Linked DNA regions of Homo sapiens: regions 2, 3 and 4 are each linked to region 1. The links are contacts of gene promoters, found by promoter capture Hi-C in blood cells and fetal thymus (Javierre and others, 2016). All regions are on one chromosome and are shown on one strand. Each heading gives the region's core, a stretch centred on a gene start or on the middle of the fragment in contact. The rest is flanking DNA. Distances are from core to core; before and after follow the strand shown. Region 1 holds the start of KCNMB4 (potassium calcium-activated channel subfamily M regulatory beta subunit 4). Region 2 overlaps MYRFL (myelin regulatory factor like). Region 3 overlaps MYRFL (myelin regulatory factor like). Region 4 overlaps MYRFL (myelin regulatory factor like).

Region 1 (2,831 bases), core at 143-2,642:
TAGGAGCCCTCTGTACTTCCCAAAATGGACCCGCAATATTCCACATTTGATTCCGGGTCGTTTGTCAAGCCACAAAAGCTTATCTTTGAACCCCAAGTTGAAAATGCCTATGTAGAGCGAAAAGGTGAGGAACTCTCTCACAACTTTCGAGAGTCCCCTCGACCTTTCAAGGAAGGTCATTCCATCTGAGTTCTAGATGAGACCAGCTGAAGCTCGGACCTTGACCGTGAGCTGGAGTAGGTGGATCCCCGCTAACCACTGGCTTTAAATGGAGGAAAAGTTAACTTTCTTGGCTCCTTGCACTTCTCCAAACCCAGTCCGGTAGGCGCAGGACCCGGACTGGGTCGAGGCCTCAAAATCTGAGACCAGGCAAGACAGGTTTTAAAGTAAGCCTCTGGGCACCACTGGTCGCCGCGCGTAAACCCACCTGAAAAGACCGGAGCCCTGGGGCTCCCTGATGTAGTCATTCCTGGTTTGAGCACAGCCTGCGCCACCTGGTCTCCTCCTAGCAATGCGAGCACACGCCGAACCCTCCCCGCGCGGAGTCTAACACCGACGCTGCCTCCAAACCTCCCTCGCGGGGAGCCCCTGGGTGCGCGGGGCGTTCTTACCTTGGGGTTGGTCAGGAGCTGGTGCTCGTCGCTGTGCAGCAGCGCCCTAGAGTTGGACTCAGAGTTGTTCACGTAGACCTGGACGCAGGGGTACTGCGAGGTGCCCCTGCAGTCGGCGCCACAGGTGAAGGTGCACTCGAACACCTCGCCGATCTGCTGCACCGACAGCACCGTGCAATTGGCCTCCGTGGCTTGCAGATCCTGCAGCGCGGGACTCAGCCAGCAGAAGCCGAAGATGAAGAGCGACACGACGCCGGAGATGATGAGAAACAAGCCGAGCCGGATGCTCTTGTCCTCGGCTTCCGTGTACTCGTAAGCCACCCGGAGCTTCGCCATCGCCCCCCACTCTCGGCGGCTGGCGTGCTCCCCCCGCCCCCTCCCGCCCCCGGCGCCGAGCCCGACTGCCTCGGGCGGGAGGAGCCGCCGCCGCCACCGCCGCCGCCGCGCGACAGCAGGGGAGTGGGCGGCGAGGGGGAGCGCGCGAGAACAAAGGGGCCGAGGCCAGCGACGCCCCCGGCGGCGGCGGCGGCAGCGCCCCCCAGCCCCCCAGCCGCCGCCTGGGCCCCGCGGTGCAGCAGCCGCTTCAGAGCCTCCTGCACCCTCGGGCGCGGGGAGCGCACGGACCGCTCCAGCTTCCAGCGCCCCCTGCCAGCCTCCGCCCCCGCACTCTCCCCGCCTCCCCCACCCCGCCTCCTCTCGTCGGGTGTCTCTCTGTCTCCATCGCCCGCTGGCCGCTACTCCGCTGACTCGCCCGGCAGCTGCCCCAAGGCTAGGAGTGTCTGAGCTGGGGCGAGCCCGGGGGCTCCCCCGTGCAGGAGGAGGCTCCGCCCCGCCCCGTCCGCAGCAGACCCGGGCCCTTCCGCCCCGCCCCGCTCCGCCCCGCCCCGCCCGGGGGCGTCTCCTTTGGGCGAGGGGCTGACGGGCACAAGCGACAGCGGCGACTTGCAATCGGAATCTTCGCTCACTCCCCTTAGAGGGACGTCCGAGATGAAAGATTAAGATCAATTTAGCTTAACCGGAGGGAAGTTAAAATAATAATAATAATAAGAGGGGAGGGTGGAGTTCAAGTGGAGCGGCGGGAATCTTGAACTCCAAACGAGTACTGGTCACCTGCAGGGAGAGCGGCCAGGCTCCGGGCGCACCCCGGGAAGCGGGCACGGGTGGCGGTGTGGGAGGACACGAGCCGCCCAGGCCGGGCGGATCGAGGTGAAAGCCCCAGGCTAGCGGTGTGCGCTGGGAGGTCCCCGGGGACGACTGAATCGCAGGTTCCCATGCCACGGGCGGGCTGGCGCGCGGTGGTGCCGGAGGCGTGACCCAGCCGCGCCCACGCCGCCAGCGGCTGCGCCCAAGGGAGCGCAGTAACCGTCCAGTCCCAGGACTTGGGCCTCCTAACCGTCTTGGCGCAGACCCGCGCCCCCTGACCCTGCTGAGGCCGGGAGGGCTGCAGGATTGGAGTTAAACAAGCTGAGTCAGGTGGAGTTTGCTGTGGAGGCAATGTGCGTGGGGGCAGGAGGCTGGACGAAGGAAACTTGCTGCTTAGGTCGTCGGTGACCCTTGTGGCAACTTAGGTCTCTGGCAGCCGAGTTGACCCCAACTTGATTTGCCCCCATGGCTGGGGCTGACTGAGACCAAAGGAAAAAGGTGGAGAGCTTTGCAGCCTGGAAAGAAATACCACTTTACCCATCAGAAAAGTACTCTTGCTTTGGGGCTCGCAAGAACAGAATCATTTCTGTCGTTTCCCTCCTTAGGAGTCTTGCCACCCCTGACCCGCCCCAGGATTTGTAGATGAGGTTTCCAGGAGCGCTGCTTAAAGCGACAGCGCCGGGCAGACCCACTTTGGGACAGGTACTGTTTCTAGACCTGTGTTCTGCTCTTAATTCTTGCCGTTGCTCCCTCCTCCCCCAATTACGCTAACAATGCTTCAGCCTCTATTGTTTTCGCGACCTTTTTAAAGTTAGAATGACCTTTTCCCAAACTACACTTTTATCATAAAATCAAACTTGAGAACTATTTATATGTACATTTCGAAGAATAAAATCAGAATATTAACTTCCTTGCAAACTACATAAACTTTTTTTGTTTGCTTGTAAGTCTCAAATGAATAAACTCTTAATTATGTTCCTGATGAATACGGAAACATGGAATCATGGAATTCTTGACTTCTCTTTCCTGGACTTCAAATGTTACTTAACTGGTATTGAGTACCTTTCGACTGCAGTT
Region 2 (2,831 bases), core at 230-2,729, 490 kb after region 1:
AAAAAAAAAAAGAAAGAAAGAAAGAAAGAAAGACCTGGACCCTTATATTAGCTTCCCCACCCTGTAAAGCTACCTCCATCACCCCAACAGAAGTTGGAAAGGTTTACTCTCTAGAGAAATGGTCCCAGGGAAACTGTGGTACAGGGTTACCAGGCACAGTGAATGCTGTGGCTGAGCTACTGGGCTGAAAAAATAGAAGAATTCATTAAAAATCTAACCACTGAATTCTGAGTCTTTTCCTTAACTCTGTTTTGCATGTATCCAAGCAGATTTCCCACAAGTAAGAAATTGGAATAATGTTCCCAAGAAAAATGGAATGTACTCGAGGAAAACGTAGTATTTTCAAGTTACCAAGGAAATAGCCATCCCCTCCTTCATCACTCTACCAAGAAATTCATCCTTGGATGAGAACAATGGTTTGCACACAGAACTTTTTAAACACGAACAAACAATAAAGGACCAGACATTTTGAGAAAGGCTTTAACATTAAAGACAGAGAACAAAACCAGATAAATAGGGAATGCTAAAGAATCACAAAGAGCTCTTTTCGTTTTTTTTTCCCCCTTCTTATATGATGATTAAACTCCTACCAAATCTGACCCTCCCACAGAGAAACAGTACAAATGCTGGAAATACTTTAAAAACAAAAACAAAACAAAACAAAAAACACCACCTACCCAAAGACACTGGAAACTAGACAAAAGCAAGGAGATTGTGGTGGGCACTGAAACTTGGAGAAGGTACTGCCATACAGTGAGTTTCTTGTTTACAGCATTTAGTCTGAGGGCTGGTTGAAGTCAGAGCCACAGGACAGCTAACCTCCGATAGAAATCCACAGCCTTCCTGGCCTGAATAACCAGAAAACAAATTTTGGGGCAAACACAGCTGCTGAAAAGTGAAAGAGGAATCTTGGAAAAGAAAGATAAGAGCAGGGGACCCCTGGATTCTGTGTGTAACTCTGCCAAATCTATTGCTGACTCCTGATCTATCATATATGGGGCAGACTGCGCACAGCCCAACCAAAGACAACAGGACTGAACTGAAATTTGAGTTACTTCCCGAGACAAAGTTTACAATTTGAGTCTAAGCAAAGTGATTGACTACTAAAACAAAAGTATACTCTTCTGAGGGATGTAAAAGAATCCAGCCATTCACAATGTCCAGGTACAAAAACTACTCTACAACAGCAATCCCCAACCTTTTTGGCACTAGAGACTGATTTCATGGAAGAGATGGACGTAGTGGGGGCGGGGGATGGTTTCGGGATGAAACTGCTCCATCTCAGATCATCAGGCGTTAGTTAGATTTTCATAAGGCACATGCAATCTAGATCCCCCTCGCCTGTGCAGTTCACAACAGGGTTCCCGCTCCTAATGCCGCTCTAATGCCGCTGCTGATCTGACAGGAGGCAGAGCCCAGGCGGGAATGCTCTTGCAGCCAGGTTCCTATCAGGCCATGGACCCGTAGCAGTCCACCGGCAGGGGTTGGAAAAACTGCTCTCTACAAAGAACCAGAAAAATGTGGCCTAGCTTGGAGGGAGAGAACAATCTGTGAACACTAACCCAGAAATGATCCAGATACTGGATTAGCAGACAAGGATCTTTAAAGCAGCTACTATAAGAAGCTAAATGGAGCAGACAAGCACATGCTTGTGAAAAAAAATAAATAAAATCTCAGCAAAGAAATCAAAACTACAAATAAAAAAACTAAATAGAAATTCTAAGATTAGAAAAATTCCAGAAATAAAAATTTAAAAAAATTATTAGATGGGCTTAAAACAGAACTCAAAGATACATCAATAGACATCATCCCATCTAAACAACAGAGAGGAAAAAAATGAACTTTAAAAAAGAGAGAGAAAAAGAGATTTATGAACCTGCAGAGAGGATGAAACAGAAAAAAAAATTAAGATATAACAGCCAAAATCTTCCTAAATTTAGGAAAAGATATAAATGTATATATCTTTATGAAGATATATACTTCACTCTGATGTGGTAGATGTATTTATTTTGCTGAGCTTCTTAAAGATATAAATGTATATATCTTAGATATATACATTTATATCTTTAAAGATACATACATTTATATCTTTAAGAAGCTCAGCAAAATAAATACATCTACCGCATCAGAGTGGAGTAACTGTAAGCCAAAAATAAAGAGAAAGTCTTAAAAGTAGCTAAAGAAAAACAGTACCTTATGTGCAGGGTCATAGTGATTCAAATAATCACTGACTAATCAAAATCTCCAGAGGCCAGAAGACAGTACAAAAACATCTTTAAAGTGCTACAGAAAAACAAAATTGGTAAGCCAGAATTTGATATCCAATGAAAATAGTCTTCAAGAATGAAAGCAAAATAAAGATATTTTGAGATAAAAGAAAACTAAGTGAATTTGAGAATAGACATGTACAATAAGAAATGTTAAAGACAGTTATTCAGGCTAAAGGGAAATGGTTCTAGATGGAAATTTGAAACTATGAAAAGGTATGAAGAGAATAAAAATGATATATTATTGAATGTAAATTATTTTTTATCTTAATTTTTAAAAATACATCTGAAGGTGGGCACAGTGGCTCATGCCTATAATCCCAGCACTTTGGGAGGCCGAAGGAGAAGAGTTGCTTAAGACCAGGAGCTTAAGACTAGCCTGGACAACATGGGAAGACCCTGTTTCTACAAAAAATATTAAAATTAGCAGGGCGTGGTGGCATGCACCTGTGCTCCCAGCTACTCAGGAAGCTGAGGCTGAAGGATCGCTTGAGCCCAGGAGAATGAGGCTTGAGTGAGCCATGAGTTGCCACTGCTCCCTAGCCTGAGCAACAGGCTGAGAAG
Region 3 (2,831 bases), core at 148-2,647, 470 kb after region 1:
ACAAAAAGTAAACTAATTAATTAATTAATTAAAATGTTAATCAGCAAAGAATGTTCAAGTACTTAAAAAGCTTTTCAAGGCATCATCCTAGGCACTGGGCAGGAGGAACAAGTCACTGAAAAGACACATAAGACAATAGTCCCTACCTTAACGTGGTATTCTGTTGATGAGGAAAGAAATAAATACCTGTGAAATTAAACAATGAGAACACAAGACAACAGAGTATTTCAGGTAGGCAGTGAATACAGAGAGGGCTGGAAGATGGCTGAAACATCAGGAGTAAGGCAGCTCCTTATTTATTCATTCATTCTAGAAGTACTTATGGAGCACCCACTATGTACGAGGAACTGCTTTAGGCATTAGAGATAAGAACTGAACACAATTAACAAAATTTCCTGTCCTTGGGGAGCTTACATTCATTCTACTATGAAGAAACAATGATATACAATATAATAAACAAATCATAAGAATTAACATTTATTCAGCATCTGCTACAAACTCTTCTTGTTCTGTGAATATTGGAAAAGACTTGTGAGATCAGCCCTGTAATATACAACTGGTGGGTATTCACATTGTAACAAATCTTTCTAGAAAGCAACTGGTGGCCTACATCAAGAGTTTTAATAATATGTATCTTTCATGTGTAAATTCCCCTTCTGGAATGTATCCTTATGCAAAGGTGGGTGGATGTTCACTGAAGTTTTATTAACAATAAAAAATGGAAAATAAACAAAACTTCTAATAATAAGGGAATTAATATGATGCATCCATACAATGGAAAACTATATTATCTTTGTGAACAATATTTTTATGGGGTCCTTACTAATATCATATAATGTGATGTCCACAATATATTACTAGCAATATGAGATTAATTTTAATAACAGAAGAAAAGAGAAAAAATAGGCTACCAAATGGTGGATCCCAAATACAAATGAATTTCATCTCTTTTTCATACATTTCTATTATGTTCCAAAATTTTCACAATGAACTTATATTACATTCATAATCATACAAAGAATGTCTTTTTGTTGCTTGTTTGTTTGATGTTTATATGTATTTTGGTTTTTGTTTTGTTTTGTTTTTAAGAGCTCAGTTTGGTGCAAGAACAGTTATGTGTGCAGCAGCCAAGCCTTAGTGCCTAAGCCCAGGTTAGCTATCAGAATAAAATATGTAGGCCAGGCACAATGGCTCATGCCTGTAATTCCAACACTTTGGGAGGCAGAAGCAGGAGGATTGCTTGAGCCCAGGAAGTTGAGGCTGTAGTGAGCTGTGATAAAGCCACTGCACTCCAGTCTAGGCGACAGAGCGAAACCCTGTCTTAAAGAAAACAAAACAACAACAAAAACAACAAAATAGGCAGATAATGAATGCTTCTCCCTCTTAGGAACTGGATATGAAGTTACAATTTAAGAAATACTTTTTGATCACTCAGAAGTCATATTACCTCCATTCTGAACCGAGCTCTATCATTTACTACCTTGGATGAATTGTGTAACCTTATTGGCCCTCAGTCTCCCCTCTGTTAAACTGTACAGGAGGGCGTTGACTAAATTAGTGGCTCCTTGGCTTTTTTTAGGTCACAGATCTCTTTGATAATTTGATGAAAATAATGAATCTACTTCATATGAAAATGCATCAACATCAATAAAAATAAAATAATTAAGAATACATTTAGTAAAAGAATTGCAAGAGTATTCACTGAAAACTATAAAACTATCATTTGAATGATGCCGTGCCATTTTCTGAGCCCAGGCTTACGAAATCGACATCTTGGCTGGATATGGTAGCTCATGCCTGTTATCCCAGCACTTTGGGAGACTGAGGCAGGAGGCTCACTTGAGCCCAGGAATTGAAGCCCAGCCCAGGCAACATAGTGAGACCCCATCTCTACAAACACAGCCAGCATGGTGGCACACACCTGTGGTCCCAGCTATTTGGGAGGCTCCCACTTGAGCCTGGGAGGTCAAGGCTGCAATGAGGCATAATCATGCTGCTGTGCTCCAGCCTGGGTGACAGAGCAAGACCATGTCTCAAAGAAAAAAAGAAAGAAAGAACGAACGAACGAAAGAAAGAAAGAAAGAAAGAAAGAAAGAAAGAAAGAAAGAAAGAAAAAGAAAGGAAGGAGGAAAGAAAGAAAGAAAGAGAAAGAAAGAAAGAAAGAAAGAAAGAAAGAAAGAAAGAAAGAAATTGACACCTTTCACTTAACTTGTCTTGCAATGTTTATCCTTAGAAGCCAGCCACCATGGTGTGAAGAAACACAAGCTATCCCATAGAGCAGTTCACATGGAGAAGAGCTAAGCCCTGTCAGTTAGAGCCCCATTTGAGCTCCAGCTGATGGCCAGCCCAAACTCAACAGGCATCTGAGTGCTTCTTGAAAATGGCCCAGTTAAGCTGCCCCAGTTGATGACTTCTGAACAAAGATGAGTTGTCATAGTCACACGCTGACCCAGTTGCAGATTTGTGACCAAAATAAAGGACTGTTATTATTTTAAGTCATTTTGGGATAGTTTGTCATGCAGCAATAGACAACTGAAACAAAATAAATGTTGACTGATATAAACTGAACTAAATAAAAGACATACCTTAGTGCCAAAAACTTTCAAGTAAAACATTTCTATTGGCTTTAGGCCCATCTCGGTTTCAACAAATTTTGGACTTCCCCAAACTTGGATGTGAATGGTTATCTGGAAATGATTCTTCTTTTGGCAAACAAAAGCTTCATCTGCTGGTGAAAAATTAAATCCTTTGTCTGTTACAACTCGATAGCCCACATCAGGTCTATGAAAAGAGAAACCAAGAAACCAGTTTTACAAATGTTTCCATATATT
Region 4 (2,831 bases), core at 114-2,613, 450 kb after region 1:
ATGTCAACACTACCCAAAGTGATCTACAAATTCAATGAAATCCCTATCAAAATCCCAACGTTGTCTTTTGCAGAAATAGAAAGATCTATTCTAAAATTCACGTGGGATCTTAAGAGACCCTGAAAATAGACAAGGAAATCCCCCCAAACAAGAACAAAGCCGTATGACTCACACTTCCTGATTTCAAAACTTACTACAGAGTTAGAGTAATCAAAACAGTGTGGTACTGGCATAAAGACAGACATACAGACAAATGGAATATAATAAACAGCACAGAAATAAACTCTCACATATATGGTTAAATGATTTTAGACAAGGATGCCAAGACCATTCAATGGGAAAAGGACAGTCTTTTCAACAAATTGTGCCAGGAAAACTGGGTATCCATATACAAAAGGATGAAGCTGGACTCTTACCTAACACAAATATTAACTAAAAATGGATCAAAAACAGGAATGTAAAACCTAAAATTATAAAACTCTTCAAAGAAAACAAAGGGCACAATCTTTACAATATTGGATTTGGCAATGATTTCCTGGATAGAACACCATTGGCATAGGCAACAAAAGGGAAAATAGATAAACTGGATATCATTAAAATTTAAAACTTTTGTACATAAAGACACTATTAAGAAAGTGAAAAGACAACCCACAGAATGGGAGAAAATATTTGCAAATTATATATCTCATAAGGGATTAATATCCAGAATATATAGAGAATTCCTGAAACCTAACAACAGTAAACAACCCAAGTCAAAAATGGGCAAAGGACTTGAATTGACATTTTTCCAAAGAAGATATATACATGAACAATAAACACATGAAAAGATGTGCAACATCACTAATCATTAAGGAAATGTAAATCAAAACTAGAATGAGATATCACCTCACACCCATTTGGATGGCTTCTGTTTGAAAAAAGAAAAAAAAAATTACAAGCATCGGTGAGGACGTGGACAAACTGGAATCTTTGGGAACTGTTGGTGGGAATGTAAAATGATATCGTCACATGGGAAATAGTATGGTGGTTCCTCAAAAAATTAAAAATAGAATTGCCATGTGATCCAGCAGTTCCACTTCTGAGTAAATATTCCCCCTAAATTGAAAACAGAATATTGAAGAGACATTTGAATACTGACAATCATAGCAGTATTATTCACAATACCTAAAACATGGAAGCAACCCAAGAGTTCATCAACATAGGAATGGATATGCAAAATGTGAATAAAGGTGAAAATTATTCAGTCTTAAAAAGAAAGGAAATTTTGATACACACTGCAACATAGATGAACCTCGAGGACATTAAGCTAAGTGAAATAAGCCAGCCACAAAAAAAGAAAGAAATGCTCTATGATTCTGCTTATATGTAGTCAGAATCATAGAAACAGACAATAGAATTGTGGTTGCCAGGGGCTAGGGAAAGTGGATAATGGGGAGTTATTGTTTTACAGGTACAGAGTTTTTGTTTTACAATATGAAAAAGAGTTCTGGAGATGGATGGTGGTGATGGTTGTATAACATGATGAACGTATCAAACATCAATGACTTGTATGCTTAAAAATGGTTAAGATAATACATGTTATGTTTTGTGTATTTTACCACAATAAAAAACCTGGGAAATAAATATATAAATAAATGTTTCATGATATACCTCTCAAGTGAAATGATAGCCCAGGTCTGGGAGAGAGACTGAAGAATTGCTTCTATCGAAGATATGTTCTTGGGAAGCAGGAGGCAGTAAGTCAACTTCTGCCACTGTGCTCTTGCAGCCCTGGGCTGAGCAGGCCTCCCAGACCATGTCATCTAAGAGTTTGTGGTACAGTGGCTGGTAGGTGGAAGATGGTGGTGGTGCCTAACATGAAAAGGCATCCTCTGCTTTGCTGCTCCAAGTGTGGCTTCTGACCAGCAAGGTTGGTAAGATTGGCATTACCAGGAGGCTGGTTGGAATTGCAGGATCTCTGGCCTCACTCCATTCTTGCAGAATCAGAATCCACACTTTAATAAGATTCCCAGTGATGCATGTGCACTTTGAAGTTCAGGGAGCATTACCTCCATTAACTGACAAATTATAAATTAGTCTCCACTCAAGCATCTCTCCCCATGACTACAAAACCCTTATATCAATTGGTCTTTCCTCTCAGCATCAAATATAATAATGCAGTATAAAACAAATCAGCATCAGAGTGCATTTGCAAACCTTGCAAAAATGCAGGATTTCATAGAATCAATAGATATGGTATTAGGGAACTCCTCAAATCATACACACAGCATCGACAAGCAAGGAACTGGCAGATTTAGACCCATTACCAAATGAAGACGAGCTAATCTACAGGCATGATGGCATTCCTTCAAAAGAGAATGATTTGAATATCAAAGAATTAAGAGAGGCCCTTGGGAAAAAAATGATCAGGCCCATGAATATCTTCATAAAAATGACTCACTTTATGATTATACTGTAAAAGTCAAACACCGTTTCATCAAAAAAACTATGCTCAAAAAATTCAACACTTCACTTAATCTTTAATCATTCTAAGAAGAAACACATTGTGTAATTATAATTTAAGTTGCATTACCTAAAATATAATGCATTTTTCATAAGTTTATTACCATTTTAAAAGATGAAGTCTAATTAAAACTTTTTTGTCAGTATTTATCATGATGTTTGGCCCTTGTTTAAAGTGCATTCATGCTAAGTGGACTTTCCTAGTGCCAGTTAAGATCTGCTGAACTCGAATTCTTACTATTGCATATGCATTTTCCTTTTTATCATATGGAACTTCTTTTTGGTGCTTATGATCAATTTGAATATCAATTATAAGAGAGTTGATACCT

The links. Contacts are between HindIII fragments. The CHiCAGO score rates a contact against its expected background, and 5 or more counts as called.
Region 2: a fragment that was not itself captured here is called in contact with the fragment with the promoter of KCNMB4 in region 1 in 2 of 17 cell types (monocytes and M0 macrophages); the score reaches 7.7 in monocytes.
Region 3: a fragment that was not itself captured here is called in contact with the fragment with the promoter of KCNMB4 in region 1 in 3 of 17 cell types (M1 macrophages, M2 macrophages and endothelial precursors); the score reaches 9.1 in M1 macrophages.
Region 4: a contact is called between a fragment that was not itself captured here and the fragment with the promoter of KCNMB4 in region 1, in 5 of 17 cell types (monocytes, M1 macrophages, M2 macrophages and 2 more). The highest score is 8.0, in monocytes.

The regions. Positions count from the first base shown.
Region 1 is chr12:70,364,851-70,367,681 of GRCh38, reverse strand. It overlaps KCNMB4 (potassium calcium-activated channel subfamily M regulatory beta subunit 4), which reads right to left and starts at 1,392. Exons shown (of 3, transcript NM_014505.6): 1 at 612-1,392. The coding sequence starts at 947. RefSeq lists a silencer at 1,337-1,576. The HindIII fragment of the contact is 11,202 bases long and covers 81-2,831 here.
Region 2 is chr12:69,874,204-69,877,034 of GRCh38, reverse strand. All of the region lies in intron 2 of MYRFL (myelin regulatory factor like), which reads right to left. Among named protein-coding and RNA genes, the nearest start is that of MYRFL, 50 kb to the right of the region's middle. The HindIII fragment of the contact is 4,392 bases long and covers 1-2,831 here.
Region 3 is chr12:69,890,921-69,893,751 of GRCh38, reverse strand. MYRFL (myelin regulatory factor like) reads right to left here. Exons shown (of 25, transcript NM_182530.3): 7 at 2,586-2,781. Among named protein-coding and RNA genes, the nearest start is that of MYRFL, 67 kb to the right of the region's middle. RefSeq lists a silencer at 2,217-2,417. The HindIII fragment of the contact is 2,649 bases long and covers 73-2,721 here.
Region 4 is chr12:69,911,069-69,913,899 of GRCh38, reverse strand. The region is part of intron 13 of MYRFL (myelin regulatory factor like); the gene reads right to left. Among named protein-coding and RNA genes, the nearest start is that of MYRFL, 87 kb to the right of the region's middle. The HindIII fragment of the contact is 3,573 bases long and covers 1-2,831 here.